2 separate regions of the Homo sapiens genome follow, and region 2 is linked to region 1. Evidence: promoter capture Hi-C in human tissues and cell types (Jung and others, 2019). All regions are on one chromosome and are shown on one strand. Each heading gives the region's core, a stretch centred on a gene start or on the middle of the fragment in contact. The rest is flanking DNA. Distances are from core to core; before and after follow the strand shown. Region 1 holds the start of PITPNM2 (phosphatidylinositol transfer protein membrane associated 2). Region 2 overlaps MPHOSPH9 (M-phase phosphoprotein 9).

Region 1 (6,040 bases), core at 1,674-4,173:
TAGGGTTGTGCAGAGCTGGGCTCAGGGGACAAGAAAGGAGAGACTTGGAGCCAGAGAGACCTGGGTCACATCCTGGCACAGGCCTGCCTTTCTCAGCTATAAGATGAAATAAGAAAACTCCTTTCATTAAGGGAGATTTTGTAAAGTGCCTGGTGCTTAGTAAGTGCTCAAGAAATATTATATTTCAGATTCATTGAGTTAAGTAGGTTTTTGAGGTAGCATCCTTTTTTTTTTTTTTTTTTTTTTTTGAGATGGAGTCTCTAGTTCTGTTGCCCAGGCTGGAGTGCAGTGGTGTGATACTGGCTCACTGCAACCTGTCTCCTGGGTTCAAGCTATTCTCCTGCCTCAGCCTCCCGTGTAGGTGGGATTACAGGTGCATACCACGCCTGGTTAATTTTTGTATTTTCGGTAGAGACGGGGTTCTCACCATGTTGGCCATCCTGGTCTTGAACTTCTGACCCCAAATGATCTGCCTGCCTTGGCCTCCCATAGTGTTGGGATTACAGGCGTGAGCCACTGCGCCCAGCCTTGAGGTAGCATACTTTCTGAAATAAAAAAGTAGATTATGTCCGAAGCAGTTGACCTAAAAACTGCCTTGGACTGACATTTGTTAGGTGGTCTAAGATGTTCTCTTCACGCTTTGCAAAAAAATGAGCTTTTTTGGAGTTTAAATTAAGCATCCCTCTGGTGTGTTTGGTTTTTTAGCCACCAAAAATTTAACAAATTTGATAACCTGTCACGTGTAAGTTCAGAAAGCACTTTGGTCTTAATTGGTGACTTGGGGGTTATTTGGTATAAATATAGGTTGTTTTTCTAAAAATTATTGCCAGTATCCTCCAAATAATTGCCCCTTCAAATGTTTCATCTAAAGGTGACAGCTTGTGGGCAGAACCATGCACAGGAAGTGCCTGCCAGTGGGTGTTAGGAGATGTAGGTGGAGTCTGTGATAGCCAACCAAAAGCTATCCCCTTCTCGCCCAGAAAAGCCACGTGCTTTGCTGGACGCTACTTGAAATCTGAACTCTGCACCTACATATGTAGTAAAATTAGACACTTTTGTCACTTTAATTTTTAGATTATCTCAAGTTTTCACTAGATTTCAATGTGCCACTTGTGCTATGAGTCTTTAAGAAGCTTTAAAAAATAAATGCACACCTGTAGCCTTTTACCATTCAGACAGGTAGATTATATTTACCTGTCATGAGGGACCATGTATGGTTGACAGTTGCAGGTTTGATTAAATCCACTATATTGCACAAATTTTGCTGGAAATAATTTCCTGCCCTGCCAAGAGCTCTATGGTAGTTTGATAATAAACTACTACCCCAGTATTCTTAGGAACTGTGTTACTAAGTCTTTTCTGCCTGATTTGTACTTTATTTCCATAGACCCCTCAGATATGTGAGGAATCAAGCCATAAATGTGCATTTGCTGGACATTATGTACCATGTCATCTCTATGACTACAGATTTCAAGGATAATTTTTACATCTAACAATTTCACTGTAACAGTGACCGATAATGTGAGAAATGTGCTTTTTACAGTGCTGCTGGTGGGTAGACAAGTGCTTGCTGCAGTTGTTTCTGAATCTAGCCAGATGCTGGAGTCGTGAAGCTGTAAGCTCCGCGGGAGCAGGGACCATCTCTCTTTCTTGCACTACAGGCACTCAATAAATACTTGTGGCTGTGAACTGGCGTGTGGCCTTTGTGTGTTTATTTCTGCTAGCTGGCTGCAGGAGCGGGTTGTTGGTGATTTTAAGTCCCAGGCATAGAGAAGTCCTTGAGTTATGGGTTAAGGGGCGTCCATCCAGGAGCACAGTTCCCGTTGGGACTCTGTGGGCTCCGCAGATCTTTCTGGATGGATCCTAGGGCACCTCTTGGTGGAGGGAAGGAGCTGAAGCGTTCTAGGTGATGGTGGTACGCCTTGGTCCTCCTCTGCGTGGTCATGGTCAGGGGCACCTGGAGGCGAGTCGGGAACGATGGCCTTCCTGGCCCGTTCAGTTGGGTTCTGCCGTGACCCCAGGAGGTGAGCAGCTGTCAGGGGCTCGGCCTCCCCGGCTTCATCTGGAGTCATCTAGGCCGCCTTAATTTTAGCTTGTCCTCTCTCCTCCAGGGGAGCACCGCCGTCTCCTCAGCCTTATAAGGTGACAAGTAGGGATGGGTCACACATCACTAAGTTTTAGGTGTGCTCTCTTTAGTTCCATGACTTCAGATTTTGCCAAACAAGTCCACCCTGGCTCAACCTAACAAACACCTCATGTTTTTAAGGAATGTCACCAGGCGCTCCCCCACCGGGGGCTCTTCCCATTGGAGAGCCCTGTCGTGCCAGATCATCCGGATTAAACTGTTCGTGATCCTCTTCCAGCTACTCCCTGAGGTGGGGACCGGGACGGCTGCGCTCCCGGCTCTGCCGTTCCCTGGGCCGCGGCCCGGGCGTCCTGAGGGGAGAGCGCGGACCCACCGTGTGGCGAGCACCGCGCCCGGGGCTGGGCTTCGGTGAGCTGCCCGCTGCGCTCTGCCCTCCCTGGTTTACCATTTCGCTCCTAAGAAACTTCATTTTTTAAAATGAGGCTGTTTTAAGAGTCACAGTGGCCGCAAGTCGGCCGGTTCCCGCCCCCGAGTGCGCTCGGCTGCTGCGGACGGTGGGCGAGGAGCCCGGGGCGGGGATCCGCGCCGCCGCCCCCGAGTCCAGTCCCGGGCCCTGAGGACACGGGCGAGCCGGGGAGGAGCGGGGTCGCCGCGGCAGGTCTGAGGAACCAGGCGGGCTGCCCGAGTCGGAGAGGTTTCTTCCGGCGGAGGCGGCGGGGCCGGGCCGAGACTCCGCAGGGACGCGCCCCCGCCGCCGCCGCCGCCGCTCCCCCGCGCGGCCTGAGGAGGCGCCGCCGCCACTGAGGGAATGCGAGCCCGGCCCGGCGCGCGCGGGCAGCAGCGGCCGCTGGGGTGCGCGGGGCACCGCGGCGCCGCGGCGTAGAGCTGTCCAGCCGGCCCCGGCCGCCCGCCCGGCGCTTCCTTCTCAGCTCGCGGCCGCCTCAGCGAGAGCCGCCCGCCAGCACGTGCGCCGCCGCCGCCCGCCTGCGACGCTCGGGAGCAATGCCCGCCGGGGCTCTGCCGCTCGCCCGGGGCCAGCAGGCGGCGGGGGCGCGCGGGGCGCAGCCGGCCGGGCCGGGGCCGCGGGGCGGGCGCTCCCCGTGAGGCGGCGTGAGGTGGCGGCGGCCCAGCCGGGGCCCCGAAGAGGACAGAGCCCGCGGCCGCGCCGAGCGGGGTGAGTGCGTCCGGGCGGCCGCTCCGCAGGCCCGCGGTGAGTCCCGCAGTGCCGGGCGCTGGCCGGGGACCTGGGGATCTGGGCGGCGGCTCCCAGAGAGGCCCCGGCCCGCCCGCCCGCCGAGCCTCCAGCCCGCCGGGGGCTGGAGGAGGGAGCGGAGACCCGGGCAGGGAGGAGGGTGTGGCGTACGGGAGCCCCGCTCGGGAGACCGCCCGAGCCTGGCCTCAGTGAGTCGCCGGCCCTGGATCCGTGCCCGAAACGCTGATTTCCGAATTTCCGTCGGTCGCGACCGCGTGGGGGACCCCCGCCAGGGACAAGTGTCATAGCGGTCGGGGGGCAGGCGTGGGCAGTGCCGGTGCCAGGGCGAGGAAGGGGCTATCGGGAGGAAGCGGAGGTGAGCCCCCGGCCCGCCTTCTCTGCTTCCCGCCTCCAGCTGAACGTCCCCAGGCCCGGGCCGTGGCCTCTGCTTGTCGGGGGCCCAGGGTTGGGGTGTGGCCCGTCTCCATCCTCAGTGCCCCCTTCGTGTGGTAATGGGGTGCCGGCTCTGTCTTCTTCCCACCCCGAATCCTTTCTTATCCGTGGCAGGGCTGATCGGGGGGCCTTGGGGAGAGGGAAAGTTCAGTGTCCCCCGCCCCAGTGTGCACTGCCTCCCCGCAAGAAATCCCAAACGGCCACTCCAGGTGAACATAGTGCGCGCGGTGCAAATGTCATTTCAAGGCAAGTCCTCCAGGCTTGTCCCCTTTCCACCGACTTGCTCCTGCAGAGACATCCTGCACTCCTCTCCCTCCCACTGAAGTGTGGGCTGGGTGCCTCTCCAAACACCCCGGCCTACCTGCCTCCCCCACCCAGAGTCGGGATTCTTCAAAGGAGACCTCACTGGAACATCTGTCTTTGTCCACAACCAGCTCTCTCCCCGGCCTCCACCTGGGAGTGACCAGAGCTGCTAGGATAGACCCCCCACTTCTGGAGGGAAGGCAGTAAGTGCTCCCCTTCATCTGAATCTCCCCTAACATCCATCCCCCAGACTCCTCTCTGCTCTGAACTCCCACTGCCTGCTATCTGTATCTCCTGTGTAACTCTTATCACCGTCTGCCTTATTTTATAGTTACTTTTCCATCTGCCTTATCTCCCCTGCTGGACGGTGAGCTCCCGGGCTGGAGTTGATTCATCTCTGGTCTCCTGCCCTGGTCAGTACCCTGCGTGGAGTCAGTGTCTCCGTGGAGCAGAAGGCCCCTCCAACGCTTGCCTCTGGGACCATAGCTTGTCTGATTCCTGGACTGTTGCTGTTAAATTACTTTCCTTCCATGAAGGGACTGTATTCTGTGGTTGGAATGGACTTCCAGCCCTCTCCCACTGCAGAGAGAAACACAATGAGTTAGGAAGGGCTGTTTTTCTTGTAAGGAGTGGCTTGCCAAGTGAACAGGACAGTACATCCTCTGCCCTGAAGATGGCCAGGCAAAGACTCCAGATTCTCTGGGTAGTGAGTGTTGAATGGGCCATTCTCTCTCCTGGTCTTCCCCAGCTGCTCAGGCGTGGGAGGCAGCAGGGGAGAGAAGTGGACTGCGGGAGTCGAGAGACTGGGGTTCCAGGCCTGGCTTTTCCCATAACTTGCTACAGGAGCTTAACTAAGTCACTTGGTTTCTCTTGGTTTTGGTTGCACCTTATGGAATCTGAAAGAATTCCTCTGCGTATCTAAGGCCCCCTGGGATCTGGGTCCTGTCTACCTTTTCTGCCTCCTCTCCTACCATTTCATTCATACCCTAAGCTGCAGTCCTCTCAGGCTACCTAGAGGCTTTCAAAGGCATGGTGCTCCCATGCCCTCCCTCTCCCCAGGTGCCTTCAACTCTTCACTGGTTGAGACCCAGTCTTGGCCTTCGCAGGTGGAATTGGTCCCTCTTCTGATTTTCGAACCACCCTAGTCTGATTTGCTTGCCACACAGAATGGCCCTTATCTGTTTACACGTGCCCCCCACTAGACTGTGAGCTCCTGGGCGGTTAGTGCTGTATCACGTTTCTCTGCATCCCCAATGCTTTGCTGCACAGTAAGGTACTTAGGAAAATAGTGAGAGGGTTGGCCTAGATCACCACTGAGAGCCCTTCTTGTCCAGAGTTGATTGCTTATACATTCTCTGTTATGGGGACCCGTTGCCTTCCTCCGTGTCTAGAGGCCTGTTTTAACACCAAGCAGATAGATGCTCTCCTAACCAGCCCATCTAGTTAAAGTCTTTCCAACTTGGTCTTCGAGAAGACCAGTCATAGAGGATGTGCAGTTATCTGTAGAGATTAGCAGAGGAAACGTCTGGTACTTTGAGATCACTGCCTTGCTGTTTTTGGAAAAAATGCCAGGGCCGTGTGCTCTTTAATGTAAGCGTAGTGGTATTGCTCCAGTGTCTTTGGCCATGGGCAGGAGGAGCCACTGCTTATGACCGCAGAGTCAATCCAAAATGAGCCATTGTACGCCAGTTCTCAACTTCGCTTAGATGAGATCAATCCCTTTGCAGATAGTCACCCTGAAAGCTGCTTAACAGGACTCCCTGCCTCCAAACACAGATGCGGCTAAGTGGTCTTTGCACAGCTTCTCTGTAGGTCATTTGGTTGATGTTTATTAAGCTTTTACTGGTACCCTGGAATGTTATCAAATAGAGCCATGGCAAATCCTCATCTGGTTTACTCTAAAACCATAATCTGAGGCATTTTCCCCTTTCTAAAGGCTTCTTACAGTGACCCATATTAAAATTTTCTTTTAGAATTTAGGGCCAGGCAAACTTTGCCTTCCCGCA
Region 2 (6,040 bases), core at 1,262-3,761, 35 kb before region 1:
AATTCTTATTTTTCTAGATTATTTCCAGTGCTTGGTATTGTCAAGCCTTTTAATTTTTCAAGTGTGATTAAGAGGAAATGGTTATACGTATTGCATCCATCTTCTTTTGGTATTTTTATGGGATACAAGTTTTGGGTGTTTTTTGTTTGTTTGTTTTTGAGATGGAGTCTTGCTCTTGTTGTACAGGCTGGAGTGCAATGGCGCAATCTTGGTTCACTGCAACCTCTGCCTCCCGGCTTCAAGCAATCTCTTGCCTCAACCTCCTGAATAGCTGGGATTACAGGCACCCACCACCATGCCTCACTAATTCTTTTTGTATTTTTACTAGAGACAGTTTCACCATGTTGGCCAGGCTGGTCTTGAACTCCTGAACTCAGGTGATTCACCCGCCTCAGTCTACCAAAGTGTTGGGATTACAGGTGCGAGCCACGGCGCCCAGCCCAGAATTACCTCTTACGTAATATATGGTATGAGTAGGAATTGAACTTGATCCTCCCTGCCTCCAATGATTAACCAGTTGTCCCAGAATCATTTTTAAATAGATTTTCCTTCCCTTACTGACTTCTGTTGTACATTTTATTTCCTTCTCGTGTAAATCTCCTTTGAGGCTCTGAGCTGTTCCATTGGTCTGTCTCTGAATTGGAACCACATCATGTAAATTATTAGTATTTTATAACAAGTGTTGATTTTTGGTGCCATTTCCTTATCTCGTTTTTTTGCTCTTGTAAAAATTATTTTGCCTATTTCTTGGCTTTGTTTTGTTTCATACAAATATTACTGTCAGCATGCCACTCTGCTTTCGATTGGAATTGCACTGAATTTACAGATTTATTTGGAGACAGCTGAGACTTGAAATATTGATTCTTCCCATACATGAACGTGGTTTAAATCTCAAGTATTTTTCTTTTTTAAAAATTAAGGCCTTTTACATCCTTTGTTCATTTTTTTCTCGAGGTATATCATATTCTAGTATTTATGTATTTCTAAATAATGTACTGATATTGTTCGTTCGTTCTTTTTTTTTGAGACAGAGTTTCGCTTTTATTGCCCAAGCTGGAGTGCAATGGCGCAATCTTGGCTACTGCGGCCTCTGCCTCCTGGGTTCAAGTGATTCTCCTACCTCAGCCTACCAAGTAGCTGGGATTATAGGCGAGCACCACAACACCCGGCTAGTTTTTTGTATTTTTGGTAGAAACAGGGTTTCACCATGTTAGCCATGGCTGGTCTCGGACTCCTGACCTCAGGTGATCTGCCCGCCTCAGCCTCCCAAGGTGCTGGGATTACAGGCGAGAGCCACTGCGCCTGGCCTCTTTCTTTCCTTTTTGAGATGGAATCTTGTTCTGTCGCCCAGGCTGGAGTGCAGTGGCATGATCTTGGCTCACTGCAACCTCCACTTCCTGGGTTCAAACAATTCTCTTGCCTCAGCCTCCTGAGTAGCTGGGGTTACAGGCGCGTGCCACCATGCCTAGCTAATTTTTGCATTTTTAGTAGAGATGAGATTTCACCATATTGGCCAGGCTGACCTCGAAATCCTGACCTCAAGTGATCCACTTGCCTCAGCCTCATGAAAGGCTGGGATTACAGGAATGAGCCCCTGTGGCTGGCTCGATATTGTTATTTCTTAAATTTTACATATTATCTATAATTGTGGTGGGTGAAGATCTAGGTCCTAGCTGAAGATGAAGATCTAGATCCTAACTGTGATTCTGGGTGTATGTTTTCTTCAGATTTGAAGGCTTTGTTTTATTGCCTATGACATGATCAATTCTTTTCCTTTCTCTCCCCTCCCATGGCTTTCAAAGTTTCAAGCCTGCAGAAAAATTGTAAGAATGATACAATGAAAACCCTTGTATATTCTTTACCTAGATTTACCAGTTGTGAGTATCTTACAGCATTGCTTTGTCTTCATAGAGATATAAACTTTTTTCTTTTGCTGAACTATATTTGAGAGTAAATTAGACACTATGATAATTTACCCTTAAATACCTCAATAGGTATCTCTGAAGAACAGAGATATTCTCCTGTGTAATCTCTTTTTTTTTTTTTTTTTTTTTTTTGAGACGGAGTTTTGCTCTTATTGCCCAGGCTGGAGTGCAATGGCACGATCTCAGCTCACCACAACCTCCGCCTCCCGGGTTCAAGCAATGCTCCCGCCTCAGCCTCCCAAGTAGCTGAGATTACAGGCGCACACCACCCCATGCCCAGCTAATTTTTGTATTTTTAGTAGAAACGGGGTTTCACCATGTTGGTCAGGCTGGTCTCGAACTCCTGACCTCGTGATCCACCCGCCTCGGCCTCCCAAAGTGCTAAGGATTACAGGCTTGAGCCACCATGCCCGGCCTCTCCTGTGTAATCTCAATGTACTTTTCATCCTCAGGAAATTTAACATTGATATAATACTAATATGTAAATACATTCTGTCTATATTCAAATGTTGCCAGTTGTCTAAATAATATCCTTTATAGATGTATTGTTTTTTGCTTTTTAATCCAGAATCCAATCAAGGATCACACATTGCATTTATTGTTATCATTTCTTTGAGACAGGATCTCACTCTGTCACCCAGGCTGGAGTACAGTAGGCATATTCATAGCTCACTGCAGCCTCAACCTCCAGGGCTCAAGTGATCCTCTTACCTCAGCCTCTCCGACTGCTGAGACTACAGACACTACAGGCTATCACACCTGGCTAATTTTATTTTTTTGTAGAGATGCGGTCTCACTATGTTGCTCTTGCTGGTCTCCAACTCCTGAGCTCAAGCGATACTCCCACACTGGCCTCCCAAAGTGCTGGGATTACAGGCATGAGCCAATGTGCCTGGCCCACATTGCATTTAGTAATCATGTTTCTCATTCCTTTCTAATGTGGTTCTTTTTTTCTCTTTCTGGAAGTTTTTTAGGATCATCTTTTTATCCTTGGTATGCCGAAATTTTGTAACAATATTTTTTTTTTTTTTAGTTTCTAACAACTCTTTTTCTGATTGATCATTTTTAATAGCTTTCTATTCCTGTTTTGAATCTAATGTTGTTATTTCTTTGAGAATATTATGGCTTCCATTGGACTGTTTCTGTAGTTTTCATTATTCTGAGTTAAGCTTTTGTTTTCATTTGAAGTATCTTTCATATTTAATGTCTTTTTCCAAGTGTTGGTTCTTTTGCAGGCTCACATTTAAGAGGCACTAGGCTGGGTGTGGTGGCTCACGCCTATAATCTCAGTGCTTTGGGAGGCTGAGACGGGTGGATCACTTGAGGCCAGGAATTTGAGACCAGCCTGGCCAACATGGTGAAACCCTGTCTCTACTAAAACTACAAAAATTAGCTGGGTGTGATGGTGCACATCTATAATCCCAGCTACTCGGGAGGCAGAAGCATGAGAATTGCTTGAACCCAAGAAGTGGAGATTGCAGTGAGTTGAGATCACACCACTGCACACCAGCCTGGGTGACAGAGTGAGACTCTGTCTCAAAAGATAAAAATTAAATTAAATAGGCCGGGCACGGTGGCTCATGCCTGTAATCCCAGCACTTTGGGAGGCCGAGGCGGGTAGATCACAAGGTCAGGAGATGGAGACCGTCCTTGCTAACATGGTGAAACCCCGTCTCTACTAAAAATACAAAAAAATTAGCTGGGCGTGGTAGCGGATGCCTGTAGTCCCAGCTACTCAGGGGACTGAGGCAGGAGAATGGCGTGAACCCGGGAGGCGGAGCTTGCAGTGAGTAGAGATCACGCTACTGCACTCCAGCCTGGGCGACAGAGCAAGACTCCATCTCAAGAAAAAAAAAAAAAATTAAATTAAAGCGAAGCAGTATAAAAAGCTATTGAAAGACTCTTAAGTGTATGGATGGGACTTAGTTCCTGGTAGCCTTCATTTTCAGGCGATTGTAGAGTCATGCACCAGCCATTTTGTTAGGGGACCTCCAGATGTGAATGTTTAGAAGGTTTTTTTTCTGGGGTTGTTCAGTTTTCGTAAAGACAGGTCTTACAGTCTCTTGCCTGGGACCTATCAGTCAGATTCTGGCAGTGGAGGAGGGGGAGGTCACCTTTTTTCAAAAGAAAATTATTTGTTAATATATTTATTTTAGAGACAGGTCTCACCTTGTCACCGAGACTGGAGTGCAGTGGTGTGATCATAGCTCACTGCATCTTCAAACCCCTGGGCTCGAGGAATCTTCCTGCCTCAGCCTCCCCAGTAGCTGGGACTACAGGCACATGCCACCAGACCTGGCTAATTTTTAAATTTTTTGTAGAGATGGGGTCTTGCTATATTGCGCAGGCTGGTCTCCAACTCCTGGGCTCAAGTAATCTTCCTCGGCCTCTCAAAGTGCTATGATTATAGGTGTGACCTGCCCTGGGTGTTTTTGAAGTCTTTTACTTTGTCATTTTCTCTTTATCCTCTGCCTCCCACTCCACTATTATCCTTGGATTTCCAAAGTTCCATTTTTCTCCCCATTCATTTTCTCCTGCTGTCCTGCCACCTGGCTGAACAGTCTACTGCTGTATGGGATGTGTCCTGGGCTCTGATTACTTAAGGAATTTCAACCAGTTTTCTGTGGTCAGCCCTGTGCCTCAACCCTGTCCATCTCTAAACCTGGGTTTCAAGGTGGGCATCTCTCACAGTTATGCTGACATCAGCCTGCTTTTCATCAGCATTTCTGGATTCAGGCACTTGGGGTTGTATCCACTTCCACCCTGCTAAGGCACTTTTTTCCTTTTTCTTTTTTTTTTTTTTTTTTTTTTTGAGACAGAGTCTTGCTCTGTCACCTTGGCTGGGGTGCAGTGGCACCATCTCGGTTCACTGCAACCTCTGCCTTCCAAGTTCAAGCAATTTTCCTGCCTCAGCCTCCTGAGTAGCTGGGACTACAGGCACGTGCCACCACACCTGACTAATTTTTGTATTTTTAGTAGAGACGGGGTTTCGCTATGTTAGCCAGGCTGGTCTTGAACTCCTGACCTCAGATGATCCACCTGCCTCGGCCTCCCAAAGTGCTGAGATTACAGGTGTGAGCTACCACGCCCGGCCAGCACTTTGTTTCTTTTCAATTTTCTAAGACTTTATTGAAATCTCTCACCTGTTACTGTCACCTCGTTTGTTTTCTCTTTAATTTCTTCATTGTTAGTTTAGTGGACTCTGAGGGTGAAGAGAAGAAAATTCTGTTATTAATTTGTCATCTTTAACCAGAAATCTCACATATGTGTTCTTATATTTATTTATTTTTATTTTTTAAAATATTTTTGGTAGAGACGGAGTTTTACCATATTGGCCAGGCTGGTCTTGAACTCCTGACCTCAAGTGATCCACCTGCCTCAGCCTCCCAAAGTGCTGGGATTACAGGCGTCAGCTACCACGCCCGGCCTCTTATTTATTTATTTTTGAGACAAGATGTCACTCTGTCACCCAGGCTGGAGTGCGGTGGTGCCCTCTCAGCTCACTACAACCTACGCCTCCTGGGTTCAAGCAGTTCTCCCACCTCAGCCACCCAAGTAGGCAGGATTACAGGCACGCGCCACCACACCCAGCTAATTTTTTTGTATTTTTAGTAGAGACAAGGTTTCGCTATGTTGGCCAGGCTGGTCTCGAACTCCTGACCTCAAGTGATCCACCCACCTTGGCCTCCCACAGTGCTGGGATTACAGGCATGAGCCACCATGCCCAGCCTCACATATATATATTTTTAAATAAAGACTTTGGCATTGTGCTTTTACTAGGTAGAACTAATTTAGCAAAAAGTAATATACAATAGGCCAGGCGTGGTGGCTCAAGCCTGTAATCCCAGCACTTTGGCAGGCCAAGGCATGTGGATCACTTGAGGTCAGGAGTTTGAGACAAGCCTGGCCAACATGATGAGACGCCATCTAATACAAAAATTAGCTGAGCATGGTGGCATACGCCTGTAATCCCAGCTACTTGGGAAGCTGAGGTGGGAGAATTGCTTGAACCCAGGAGGCAAAGTTTGCAGTGAGCTGAGAACACGCCACTGCACTTCAACCTAGGTGATGGAGCAAGACTCCATCAAAAAAAAAAAACAAAAAAAAAAACACAA

The links. Contacts are between HindIII fragments. The study calls those that stand out against the background at their distance.
Region 2: a contact is called between a fragment that was not itself captured here and the fragment with the promoter of PITPNM2 in region 1, in 1 of the 25 tissues and cell types used here (psoas muscle).

The regions. Positions count from the first base shown.
Region 1 is chr12:123,147,973-123,154,012 of GRCh38, reverse strand. PITPNM2 (phosphatidylinositol transfer protein membrane associated 2) reads left to right here and starts at 2,923. Exons shown (of 26, transcript NM_020845.3): 1 at 2,923-3,260. It also overlaps a transcript of MPHOSPH9 not described here. RefSeq lists silencers at 2,540-2,739, 2,760-3,019, 3,040-3,179, 3,280-3,369. The HindIII fragment of the contact is 7,714 bases long and covers 1-6,040 here.
Region 2 is chr12:123,182,245-123,188,284 of GRCh38, reverse strand. The region is part of intron 13 of MPHOSPH9 (M-phase phosphoprotein 9); the gene reads left to right. Among named protein-coding and RNA genes, the nearest start is that of PITPNM2, 34 kb to the right of the region's middle. The HindIII fragment of the contact is 5,791 bases long and covers 1-5,406 here.